Regions from separate parts of the Homo sapiens genome. Here region 2 is linked to region 1. Evidence: promoter capture Hi-C in human tissues and cell types (Jung and others, 2019). All regions are on one chromosome and are shown on one strand. The core of a region is centred on a gene start or on the middle of the fragment in contact, and the rest is flanking DNA. Distances in the headings are between cores, read along the strand shown. Region 1 holds the start of TEX26 (testis expressed 26). Region 2 has its middle 63 kb from the start of HMGB1.

Region 1 (6,551 bases), core at 2,035-4,534:
AGAGACCTGGAGTAATGAGGCCACAAGCTAGCATTACAGGATCTCTGGGGTGTTGATTTTTCTGGCTGGAAAACTCTGTGGCTGCAGTGCCTTTGCCAGAGTTTTTGTCCCGCATTGAGGTACACAGACAAGTGAAGAGTGAAGAAGAGTTTTAGTGTTAGAACAGCTCGGAGGAGTGGGTAGCTTCTCTCTGTAGGCAGGTCATCCGGTCAAGTGTTCAGCTGTCAGTAGAGAGGAGGCCCTAGGCAGCGTAGCTCCTCTCCATAGGCAAGTCATTCAGAGATCTCTGCAGGTCTCTGAAGCTCTCAGCAGAGAGCGTAGCTCCTGTCTGTCGGCAGTCGAGAGGGTACTCCTTCCTTTCTGCAGCTAGTTGCCCCATCATCTCCAGCTATCAGCAGAGAGCATACTCCTCTACAGCGGGGGGTTCCCTTGTCTCTCCCTGCCCTCTTCATTCTCTGGCTGCTGTCCTCTTCCCTGCTCTGGCTGAGCCCAGGGTTTTTATGGACTTCAGAGGGAAGGAAGTGCATGCTGATTGGTCCATGGGTGGCCATGCGCAGGCTGGAGGAGGCAGCATGAGTCCCCACTCAGATTCCTGACTGGCAGCCTGGTCCCCAGACTTCAGGCCCTCCCTGGTCAGAGGGTGGGGCCTTACTGGGGACCCCAGCCCCTTCCACCCAGGACTCTGTCTGCCTCCTGCTGCCATTCACAGCCCTGGGGCTTGGTCCCAACCCCACTCTGAGATCAGAGCCAGTGGAGAGAGGCCAGGCAGTGGGAGCAGATACCCTTTAGCCTGCAGGGATGTGGGTGGGGTATTGCCTGGCAGTGGGATCAGATACCCCTGAGCCTGCAGGGATGGATGGGTGAAGGGTGTCCTTCCTGGGGAGTCCAAGGGTGCAGGCTGCAGAGATGCCCAGGTCCTGTGCCTGGGAGGGCAGCTGCAGCTGCACCAGGGAGCTCTTGCCCCACCAACTTGGAAGAGGCAAAGCTCCCACTTGTCCCTGGCTCCTGCCTGCTTCATGGAGTGAAAGGCCCAGGTCTGCAGCCGTGGGTTCCACAGGGAGGCTCAGAGGCACAGGGAGGCTCAGACCCACAGCCGCAGTTTGGGTGGCTGTAGCCTCGCCCAGGACTGCAGGGCTCCTGCTTGCTCCATAGAGCAGGAGGCCTGGGTCTGTAGCTGCAGTTTGGGCGGCTGTAGCGGCACAGGGAGCTCCCATCCCAACTCAGAAGGGGCAGCTCCCACGGGCTCCATGGAGTGTTGCAGCCCCAGCTGTGCTTCCCTGCTGCAGCCAGCATGATGGCAGCAGCCACTGCCATCACTAGCAGTGCCGATGGCTACCTGAAGCTGGAAGACGTAAGGACCACTTCTCCCCTAGGGCCTGTAGAGGGAGTGCAGACTTGTCCAGACCTTGATTTCAGGCTCTCGACCTTCAGAGCTGTGAGCAAATACATTTTTGTTGTTTGAATCCACCAGTCTGTGGGAACACATAGCAGCCACAGGAAACTAATACAACACCTGAGAGCCCCATCTGTAGTAATTATTCAATAACAGTTAGTCATCAGTCACCATCAACCTCATCCTATTTCGGACCAAACCTGGGCAGTGGGGACACATCAAGCCTACCATTTGGAGGGTGACTCTCCCAGCAGTGGGGAATGAAGTGGCACAGAGTAGCCATTAGAGGCCCAAGCCTGGAGGTAAAGGGGCGAATTCACCTGGGGGAAAAAGAGCTTTGGAGGCAGAATCAAAGAGACCTGGTGATCAAACTGCAGTCTCAAGGAAGCTGCCTTCCCTTCTAAATTGAGCAGCTAGGACCCTCTTAACTGAACTCTCAAAGTCTGGAAGGTTTGAGGAGGACAAGGAGTGTGATTTTGCACATGTCAAGTTGGAGGCCCTGCTGTGACACCCACATGGAACTGTCTGGTAGACAGTTAGATATTCTGGTCTGAAAAAGTAGGAAGAAAGTCCAAGTCAGAGATAAAGGTTAGAGAGTTGTTGGCACCTTTATGCAGCACTTGAAGCCCTGTGCAGGATATGGTCACAAAGAGAAGGTAAGCCTAGAAGGATCAATCCTGGGGGACTCCAACAGTTCCCAGACAAGAAGGGGATGAAATGGGGAGACAGTGGGAAAACAGGGTGGTTAGAAAGGGAAGAGAAGCATCCAAAGGGGTGCTGTCGGGATGCTAGGAGGGGATCCTCCCTCCTCTGTCTCTCCTGTTTGCCTTCCCATCATATAGAAACTGAGTGTATTAGATATTTTCTGCACTAATTAAGTATTTTCATTTTCCATTCTTAATTTACAACGGAATGAATTGGAATGAAAATATGCATTTCATTCACTCTTTTGGGAGCACAATTCTAGGGAATTTGTACTTGAACAATCCTTCACTGCTCCATAGCCACTGTGGAATCACAGTTACCCAACTATACAGCAGCAATGGCCAATTATTGCCACAAGAGACTATGATGGAGCTGACTACACGGTAATCATGCCACTAGCGTCACAGCTAGAGTGGTTCTCCCTCCACAGACCCAAAAGGCTGAACTGGTGAACCTGCTGCATCTGTGGGCAGAATTAGGATGAAAAGCACTACCTCTGTGAAATACAAAATCTCTGTGGAAGAAAAATCAATTCAGGTTAGAGGCGGCAGCTGAAGGCCATGGCTCCCAGCCTGGTGCGACAGCCCAGGGAGGGCGTCTGCCTCTGCAGACACAGCTGGGACTCCATTCAGCAGCCAACCCTTCCCCCACTTTCCTTGCTGTTTCCAAGATCCTATATGGGGATCGGGACTCAGGCAGGACCTGTTCTCTTCAGAGCTTCCAGGACTTCTCTTTCTTCTTTGCCTTTGGCCCTGTTTTCCTTGGAAAATCACCAGTTCTTCCTTTTTTCCTGTCCCCTCTTAGCCAGGCACTTCCTCGAGTGTTTAAAAACCCTGCGCGTTTTAGGGAGCGGGGATTTGGCAAAGGTTATGCGAAGGACTGAAAAGGGGCAGCGTCATGAAGGCCCTGTCATTCTCCCTGACTCCCCGTCTTTTCCTCAGTTGAGCATACTCCTAAGAGCGATGCCACACCCTTAAATACTAAGGCCCCTTTTTCTCAACAGGACCCTTTCCCCGGGAAAGACCCCAGCCCCGCCCCGCAGACCGGCAGAGTCTGCTGTCTTACTTGGCTGGAGGTTGTGGTGGCAGAGAGAGGGATCCGGAGCCCTGGGCCCAGGCTGTTCCATTCTGCCCCAGGAGGCGGCCGCGGGGCCCTGGCTCCAGCTATCTCAGCGCTTGCGGGAGCCGCGGGCTGCTTTGTGACGCGTCGCCATGGAGACAAGGATCGGGTTCCAGGGAGTTCTGCCCCTGCCAAGGGGTGCTGGCCACGCAGGAGGCTTAACCTGGCCGGCGCGGGAATGGGGTGCAGAGAGCAAAGAAATGTGGCTTTGATCTTATGGATGCCTTACTTTTACATTATTTGTACAGTTCTTGCAGTGAGCTTTCCGGACCACTGTCTTGTATGTTTCCTAAGAAAAGCAAAAAGGGAAGAGATTGAAGAGAAAGTAGATTTTCAACTACAAACTTTCATCCATTTGCTTTCAGCTTAAGCAAATGTGCGCAAAGTTGTCATGGATTTTTGCAGTCAATAAAAACCAAGCAAGAAGACTGAATCCCAAGTCATCTGGTATAAATGGAAGCAGTTTCTGTGATAGTTCCACGCGGTCAGAAGGGTCATCCTGGCTTAGGAGAGGGGCAGAAGAGGAAATGCACGCGTGGAAACAGGAGTGGGCAGGGAGGATGTGACACTGTCCTCCTCACCAGGCCACGTTCCTGGCACCAACCATAGTGTTTGTGAGGGTCAATTTAATTGTTCTTGTGCTCTCATAGAGGAAGCTGTGTCTTTCATCCCCTTGTAAGAGTTTTCACTGATGAAGGGGGTCTTTTATCTTCATATCTTGGGAACTACTGAAACTGTTTCAAAGAGTCAAAGACACCAATAACTAACAGAAATTCTTGTTTTCAGGGGCAGATAAGAAAAGAAACAATTTGCTGAAACTCCCTCTGCTTATAACAAAACTGACTGAAATCAGCCGGAATCAATATGGCCAAATGCAGTTTGCGCACAGCAAGCTTGCTGATGTCACAGCCTGAATTTCTACTGCATGTTTCATACCAACTCCCTCCAAATTTGCACATGGGACCCACCAGGAAGCATGAAGAGAGAGCCATGCATGCCTGAAGACTTCCCAGATGTTCCCTTTGCTTCCACCAATCACCTGCTAACCCCAGGATCCAACCCTAAACCTTTTGTAATAAAATTACTGCCCTAAAGCCAGTACAAGACAGATTTGAACTGGACTTTTGTTTCCTCAGAAGTTAACTTGCAATGTGAAGCTTTCCTTTTCTCAAAAACTTGGTGTCATAGTGTTGGCTTCTAGTGCAGTGAGCCCCTTTTGCTGGATAACCTTACCTGGTAATTTGACATACTAGGTGGTTAGTAACTACTGACTGTCTCCAGGTTACAACACAGTTATTACCCACTTGGGTGAAAAGAGAAGACAGGAAATACATTTTGGAGTTGGCTGGCAACCTGTTTACAAAGCAATTTACAACAGTTCCTTATTCTTAAGGGGCTATTCTAATACAAGACCTCAGAGAAACAGTGCAGTGTGACAAAGGAGGAATTTATCAAAGGAGACAGAAAAAGCATCAAGGTAAGGATCCCAAATATATGTGCAAGGAATGTCTTTAAAATGAAGAGCTAAACTAGAATTTCCTGAAGGTAGAGTTCTATCCATATAATGGAATGAATATAACACATTATAAACTCTCATGTTTTGAAGCAATGGAGGGTGGAACACATTAGAAGGCATAGATGTTATTAAAAGGAATGAGTCTAAATTAGGATTTAGTAGTGGCATCTAAATTTAAAAAGTAGCACCCAATAACAGATTACTGTCTGGAAATGGTAGAGCTAATTAGCATAGCATAATTTAAGAGAAATATATGTTTAAAATAGAGCAGCAAGTATATAGAATTTTGAAAGTGAATTCTTATTAATATCTTACAATTTGTCTCATTTTAGGCAAGCTGTGAAATGGTGCGGTAGGAACCAAATAGAGAGCCAAAGGATCTTTCTGTCACTGCAGGCCCTTAGGGGTAAGCAAATCCTTCCCTGATCCCTGGTCTCCTTATCTGTAAATGAGAATACCAGCACCCACCTCACTGTGCTGTAAACATGATGAGTTCTAACAATAATTTATAAATTGTAAAATCACACAAATCTAAGATATTGCTCTTGTTGCTATTCTGATCTTCATTCCTTTTATAGTCTTTCTACTTCAAAGTGTATTTTTGCGTGGGTCCATTTTATGGCTAGCGGTATAGCACTATTCCTGCCTTTGAATTCTGGTTGCCTGAGGCAACCCTTCTAAATGATTAAGTAGAGTATTTCCCCCCTGCTTTCTTCTCTCCCTCAACAAATACTGACTGTGCACTGAATATGAGCTGTATGATGGCATCGGGGCAACACCCTGATTATTATAGTGAACAACTTCCTAGAAAAGGAGGTGCCTGAGCTGGGTCCTCAAGGATGCTTGGAGTCAACCAGGTGAATAGGGGGAGGTGACAGGTGACACAAAGTAACGCAAGGGCCCAGAGGCATGGAACACTGTGTGTAGTCCCAAGACCTTTAGTAGTTTAATATTGCCATATTGTAAAGTGTGTCAGGGGAAACTGAGAGCCGGCTGGGGTGGAAGGCCCTGCAGGCCATCCTGAGAAGCTTGGACTTCACCTGAGCATGCTTGGGTTAAACAATGCAGTGCAGGGGCCAGGTTGGAAGTTTAAGTAAATCCTGGCCTCTCATTCCAGAAGGAGGAGAGGCAAAATTCCACAACATTCTGCCAGAGTAAGTTAATCATTCAGAAATTAAAGCATCTAGGTTACTAATTTAGGTTACTGATATCTCTTTAGCAGAGTTTCAAATTGATCCAAAACAATTGAGAATAGTTGTATTGAATGGGTTAAATGTTAATTGGTTGTTTTCAGTTGAAGTGATTACAGCCAAGCGAGGTGGCTCATGCTTGTAATCCCAATACTTTGGGAGTCCAAGGCAAGAGGATCCTTTGAGCCTAGAAGTTTGAGACAAGCCTGGACAACATAGGGAGACCCCGTTTCTACAAAAAATGAAAAAATTAGGCAAGGTGATGCATATGTGTAGTCCCAGCTACTTGGGAAGCTGAGGTGGGAGGATCAATTAAGCCCATGAGTTTGAGGCTGCAGTGAGCTGTAGTGGTGCCACTGCACTCCAGCCTGGGTGACAAGAGAAAAACCCCATCTCCAAAAACAAAAAACAAAAAATTTGTGACAATTTATTTTTGCATGCACACACGCACCTGCGCATGCAGGTCCGTGCATGTGCGCGCACACACACACAAACACACACATAGAGAACATGATGTGAAGTAGTAAAGACTGGGATGGGTGGTAAGGGTGAAGAGATAGCAAATATAGAACACTCAGGTTTGAACTATAACAGAGAAGAAAACCTCTAGCCAGGGGAGGAGGAGGGG
Region 2 (6,551 bases), core at 2,482-4,981, 400 kb after region 1:
TTAGTAGTAGAGTTTCACCATGTTGGTCAAGCTGGTCTTGAACTCCTGACCTCAGGTGATCCGCCCACCTCGGCCTCCCAAAGTGCTGGGATTACAGGCGTGAGCCACCGCACCAGCTGTAAAATATTTTACAATGAGCATGTGTGACTTTCATATTCAGGAAAAAAATTTCGCTGAAAACACACACACACACACACACACACACACACACACACACACACACACACGTATATGTTACCTAGCATAGCAGTTCCGAGTAGTTAGTGGTTGTTATGAGAGTTCCACTTCCAGCGTGGGTGCGCTACATCTTTAAATATTCCTGTAGCAATGAATAGCCACTGTGCCTAGGGTTTCTGTGTGAATACATACCCTCTTTTTTTATTCTTGATAGATTCATTATTTCAGTTGAGGCCTTGTTCTCTTTTCTTTCATTAGCTTTAATCAGCAGGCTCGGGGCACCTGTCACAGGGGATGCCATCATTCATTTTAATTTTTAAAATTATAGTAGCAATTTAAGCTCATCCTAAACATGAAAAACAAATCTGCAGTTAGTAAAGTAAAACCTTAAAGTCATCAATTTCACCATGCCTTTCAGTCCCACTACCCAAAGATGGCAGTGGTTCAGTGTATGGTCTTCACAGCTTCTGTGCATATGCAAATGTGTGTGTGCACTTGTTTTTTATTTGTCTTTTGAGACAGGGTCTCACTCTTGCCCGGTCTGGAGTGCAGTGGCACAATATCAGCTCACTGCAGCCTCGACCTTCTGGCCTCAGGTGACCTTCTCACCTCAGCCTTCTGAGTAGCTGGGACTACAAACATGTGCCACCACACCCAGCTAATTTTTGTATTTTTTGTAGAGACAGGATTTCGTTATGTTGGCCAGGCTGGTCTTGAACTCCTGGGCTCAAGCAATCTGCCTGCCTCCACCTCCCAAAGTGCTAGGATTACAGGCATGAGCCACCATGCCCAGCTTGCATTTGTGTTCTTGTTGCACCAATAAGATCATGAAGCATATAAAAAAAGTCTTTCCACAACAGAGATTTATATATACTATGTCTTTTTTAAGAACTGCATAATATTCTACTTTGTAGATGTAATTTATTTCACCATTCCCTTATTGACAGAATTTTCACTATTGTTAGCAGAGCTACAAAAATACTTTTACCTATATATTTGCACACTTCAGTGAGCAGATCTGTAAGATAAATTCCTACAGGGGAACTAGTATTGGTCAAAGGGTATCCATGTGGATAATTGTTATCATGTTGCACTGACTTACATTCCCAGCAGTACATGTATGAGTTCCTTTTCCCCTACACACTTTTACCTGCACAAGTTGAGTATTCTTTACACAAAATGCTCAGGACCAGACATGTTTCAGACTTCAGATATTTTAGGATTTTGGAATATTTGCATATACATAATGAGATATCGTGGGCATGGGACCCAAATCTAAACATGAAATTCATTGATGTTTCATATACACTCTATACAGGTAGCCTGAAGGTAATTTTATGCAACATTCTTAGTAATTTTTGTGACCCATCACAAGAAGTCAGGTGTTTTAGAAATTTTAGAAAATTTTGGATTTTGGGTTTTCAGATGAGGGATGCTCAACTGTATTGTGTATTATATATTATTGTCTTATTATTGCTTTTATTTGTTATTATTTTTAAATCTTTGGTAATTCAGTATGTGAAATAATGGGTGTCATTGTTGAATTTGAATTTTTTTCATCAGACTGAAGACATCATTTCTTTATTGCCACCATCCATTTGGAAATGTTATGCACATTCTGCAAATCCAATTGGAAGTCTGGCCTAGAGTTTGGTTAGATGGTGGCAGGGAAATAATATGCTTAGAAACGTGGTCCTGGATAGAATGTTGAGGAAAAGCAGAGAGAGAAGATGTGTGTGGGAGACAGATTGGATAGTGGCATATTTTTTTGCATAGAAATCTGTTAGCTGTATGGCTGCTGTTTCAGCATCCCTGAATCCGCCTGGCTGAAATGGGCCATCTATCTATTCACCTTTGTTCACAACGATAGAAATCGTGTCCAATATTCTCTATGTGCTTTTTCTCACTGAAATCTGGCATCATAATGACTCAGCATCTGGAGGAGCCAATACAAGTGAATCAAGTTTGCGTTCATCACCCAGCAGTGCCTCGTATGCCTAAGGGATTTCATGGAACTTCATTTCAAAATCATAGTTTGAAATGGTCATGTTTCAAACAACTATAAAGAAACTTTAAAATGTGGCAAAATGTGGACAGGGCCTTAAATGTAGGAAGAATGTTCAGATAACTTTGCAAACAGCTTTTTGGTGATAGCTCAGTTACTTCTTGCCTCATTAGTTGTCCTTGGTTCATAGGACATCCGTGACCCAGCATAAGTCAATGATAAAGTTTGTTCCAATACACATTATTTCTCCCTTTCAGAATGAGTGGCCTTGGCAGATGTGAAACCTCTCTGAGCAGGTAATGTCCCTAAAGGGGGCACGCAGAGAGACTGTGCAGGGTCACATTGTGATGGAGATGTGGGTAAAGAAACTCACAGACACCATTGCCTTTTCCATCATTTAGGATGTCTTTACTGCTTTCTTCATTTCACCATCCAGAAATACCGAATTATAAAGGATGTGATTCTTTCTGACTACCCAAGACATCCAAAATTCAATCTTTTTTTTTTTTTTTTTTTTTTTTTTTTTGAGACGCAGTCTCGCCCTGTCGCCCAGGCTGGAGTGCAGTGGCGCGATCTCGGCTCACTGCAAGCTCCGCCTCCCGGGTTCACACCATTCTCCTGCCTCAGCCTACCAAGGAGCTGGGACTAGAGGCGCCCGCCACCACGCCTGGCTAATTTTTTTGTGTTTTTAGTAGAGACGGGGTTTCACCGTGTTAGCCAGGATGGTCTCGATCTCCTGACCTCGTGATCAGCCCACCTCGGTCTCCCAAAGTGCTGGGATTACAGGAGTGAGCCACCGCGCCCGGCCCCAAAATTCAATCTTATGCAAACTTCAGTTGAGGATGTTTCCCCTGATTCTTTCGCAGCTTCCACATCCCAGTAGTTCTCCGTTTTTAACTTATCAGCTGTTCTCTATGGATGTCATGCCTTGAGATGTTATCTTCCAAACACACAGCATACACAACTAACTCATTGTTTCTCTTTTTAGAAAATTAAGCAAATATGTATATAACTGCATATGCGGGCGTCTGGTCAACCAGAGGCAACAAACGTGACCTCACAAGTTTGTGTAAACTCAGTCAAAAGCAAGGGAGCGCAATACGGTAGTCCTTTTATGGGTTAATATGATCTCACCCTCCCCCCACCACAGTAGTGATCTTTCTGTTCCTCAAAAGGGAAGGGCCCTGGGCTGGGAACCCCTTCAGTTATCCCTTCTGAATGGTACAAATCTCCTTCATCCCATCCCTCTGATGGTCCCAGTTGGTTGTGGTTGGCCATGAAAGAAGGTAAATGGCTCAAGATCACTGCACCTCATTCCCCACCTGAAAAAAGACATTTCATATTTACATTTTGCTGGCGATGGGAGCCCTGAGTCAAAACCTGTACGTAGAAAACAGCCCAGGAGACGGGTTGCCTGGTCACTGGCGCTGCAGCACACCGAGTTCCCTGCTCTGGGTCAGGTTGTTAAGACCGCATGAGGATGCGCTGCTGTAAAAGTGCCTGCTTTTTCCAATTTAGGTTCACCAGAGTGCATAAATCCACTGACAGCTCTCTTCAAACAGTTGTTCTCAACTTTAAATAAAATTTTGAAATAACACCTGGTTTGCCTTTTTAAAATTTCAATTTTAAAAGAGACAGGGCAGCAGGAGGGTATAGATTAGGGGGCTATGGAAGGCATTCTACTATGGGGGGAAGAGCACACATCTTTCAGAGTTTGACTTTGAACCTTGACTTCACTAAACATTTGGCTATATGACCTTGGGAAGGTTATTTTTAAGCTTTGATTCCCTTCTCTGGGAGCAGGAATAAGACTCCTTTGGAGTCTTGTGGACATTTATGAATAATAACTTCAGCACAGCATAGGGCTGGGTGTGGGGTCAGGGCTGAGTAAAGGTGAGCTTGCCCATCTCCTCTCCATCTCTTTTTGTGTCACACTGTATCGGCGCCTTCTGTTTCTGCAGTTAAGGGCAGTGCTGGATGTCGTGGTGATGCTGACCCTGAGGAAGTGACAGCCCACTTTCTCAGGGGAAGTGGTGGCATAGACACAGGCAATCATATGTCATTCATAGAAGCAAGTCCCCAGCCACTGTGGACCACCGACATCTGAGGAAGGTGGGAAGAGGCTCAGAGGTAGGAGCTACCACCCCAACTCAGGCGTTACTCACCGAGCTACATGGCAGTCTCAGGGTGGGGACAAAGGTCAGGGGGCCCACCATCCCGAGAGGTTCCTTCCTTGGTGAGCTGACAGGCCAGCTTCTCCCTGAAGTTTCTTACAACTGAAGTTTCAGTTCTGGCAAACAGACTACGGACCTAAGTCCTAGGCCCAGCAACTGCCTTCCCAGGCAGGTCCCATTCCATTTTTGAGATCACTGCTCCTTCTCAGCTTTCTCGCCCGCCTCCCTGGAGAGAGAAGGTTCAGCACCGGATGCACAGCCGCTGCGGCCCCTGCTCTGTGAGGACTCTTGAGCCTCTAGCGGGGAATGACCCATGCTACTTGTTAAAAGGCGGGCTCGGCCCCTCCGGGCTCCTCCTGGCCAAGGAGCCTGCGTAGCTGCAGGATGTAAAGCCAAAGGCCATCAGAAGGATGTGTGGAAAACACTGCGGTTAGGAATGAGCAGACATTCCTAATGGAGCACGGACCTCAGGCTGATTGTGATCTGAGACAAAACAGTGCCAAGTGCTGCTAAATCATTAGAACACTTGTGGATAACAGCAAGAGAAATAAAGACACACAGACTCTCTCACAGGAAGGCTCTGTGGTATGGAGAGGAGCTTTGGCGACAGAGGGCAGAGGCCCCTTTCTGGTTGTCTTGGGACAAGTCATTTAGTGATGGTGGAGCTAGGGCTCGTGGTGGCAGGCTTGCTGTCTCCCCATATCAAGGTCTTGCTGTGTGCCAAGCACTGTCAGGTTCCTCGTAGACGTCATGTCCCAATAGCCCTATGAGGCAGGCACTGTGATTATAGCAATTTGATTTTAATTTTTTTTAGGTTATCTGGTGAGGTTGCAGATCTCTCTGGATGAAGAATCTCAGACTCAGAGGTGAAATGATATGCAGGCAGAACCAGTCTCACTGTTCTCTGTCTTAATGTCTCTCAGCCTTCATTTATCATCTGCAAAATGGGAATAAAAAATACAATCTCATAGAGTTAGAGAAATAATGAATAATTCACAAGTCTGTGGTATATAATATGTGTTTGGGCCAGGCGTAGTGGCTTGCGCCTATAAACCCAGCACTTTGGGAGGCCGAGGCAGGCGCATCACTTGAGGTCAGGAGTTTGAGACCAGCCTGGCCAACATGGTGAAACCCCATCTCTACTAAAAATAGAAAAATGAGCCAGACATGGTGGTGCATGCCTGTAATCCCAGCTACTCAGGAGACTGAGGCGTGAGAATCACTTGAACCTGGAAGGTGGTGGTTGCATTGAGCCAATATCATGCTACTGCCTTCCAGCCTGGGCATCAGAGCAAGACCCTGTCTCAAAAAAAAGAAATAAAAGTTGTTAGATGTGGGTTATTTAATGTTGCATATTGCCTTCCAATTTTAAAAAAAATTGCCAGGCTGAGCACAGTGGCTCATGCCTATAATCCCAACACTTTGGGAGGCCAAAGCGGACAGATCGCTTGAGCTCAGAAGCTCCAGACCAGCCTGGGCAACATGACGAAACCCCCATTATATGGTTAGGCTTTGTGTCCCCCCACAATCTCATCTTGAATTGTAATCCCCACCTGTCAAGGGAGAGACCAGATGGAGGTAATTGAATCACAGGGGCCATTTCCCCATGCTGTTCTTATGGTAGCGAGTGAGTTCCCGTGAGACCTGATGGTTTTTTTTTTTATGTTAATAATGGAGTTTAATATTTTGTTTCTGTGCAATCTTATGAAATACAACTTGTTTTATAAGAATTTTCAACAAAGTATTAGTTTCCTTTTGCAAAAAGTTATTAGTTTGCCATTTAGTAGCTTTTAAGTATGTTGAATTTTTTTACATAATTAAGAACCTCAATATTCTTGTTATCAAAAACATTTAGTGAGTACCTCCATGTGCAAAACAACTGGGCTAAAGAGTCATAGGACAGAGCCCTACTGTCAAGGATCTTTGAGTCTGTCTTGAGAGATACTTTATTCTTTCATCTCTTCCTTTGCTGTGGTTCACATCTGATGTCACAAAAACCAGTGGGGGTTGGGAGTACGCCAAAGAACAAGAATACTGAGACATTTTGCTGCAATATTTTGTGCATCCCTAAAGGCCATTTCTAAATAACAACAATGGTGATGACAACAAAATTACACCTGTCATTTATCAGGAACATACAATGTCAAAGCACTGTGCTGAATGATCATTTATCTTTAAATGATCAGATGCTTTCA

What was found. The method cuts DNA at HindIII sites, captures the fragments that hold promoters and counts their contacts. A contact is called where the count stands out against the background at its distance.
Region 2: a contact is called between a fragment that was not itself captured here and the fragment with the promoter of TEX26 in region 1, in 1 of the 25 tissues and cell types used here (dorsolateral prefrontal cortex).

What each region holds. Positions count from the first base shown.
Region 1 is chr13:30,929,389-30,935,939 of GRCh38, reverse strand. TEX26 (testis expressed 26) reads right to left here and starts at 3,284. Exons shown (of 7, transcript NM_152325.3): 1 at 3,164-3,284. The coding sequence starts at 3,224. It overlaps TEX26-AS1 (TEX26 antisense RNA 1), which reads left to right and starts at 3,332. Exons shown (of 4, transcript NR_038287.1): 1 at 3,332-4,694; 2 at 5,066-5,139. The HindIII fragment of the contact is 5,735 bases long and covers 1-5,068 here.
Region 2 is chr13:30,525,186-30,531,736 of GRCh38, reverse strand. It overlaps a transcript of HMGB1 not described here. Among named protein-coding and RNA genes, the nearest start is that of HMGB1, 63 kb to the right of the region's middle. The HindIII fragment of the contact is 4,826 bases long and covers 1,319-6,144 here.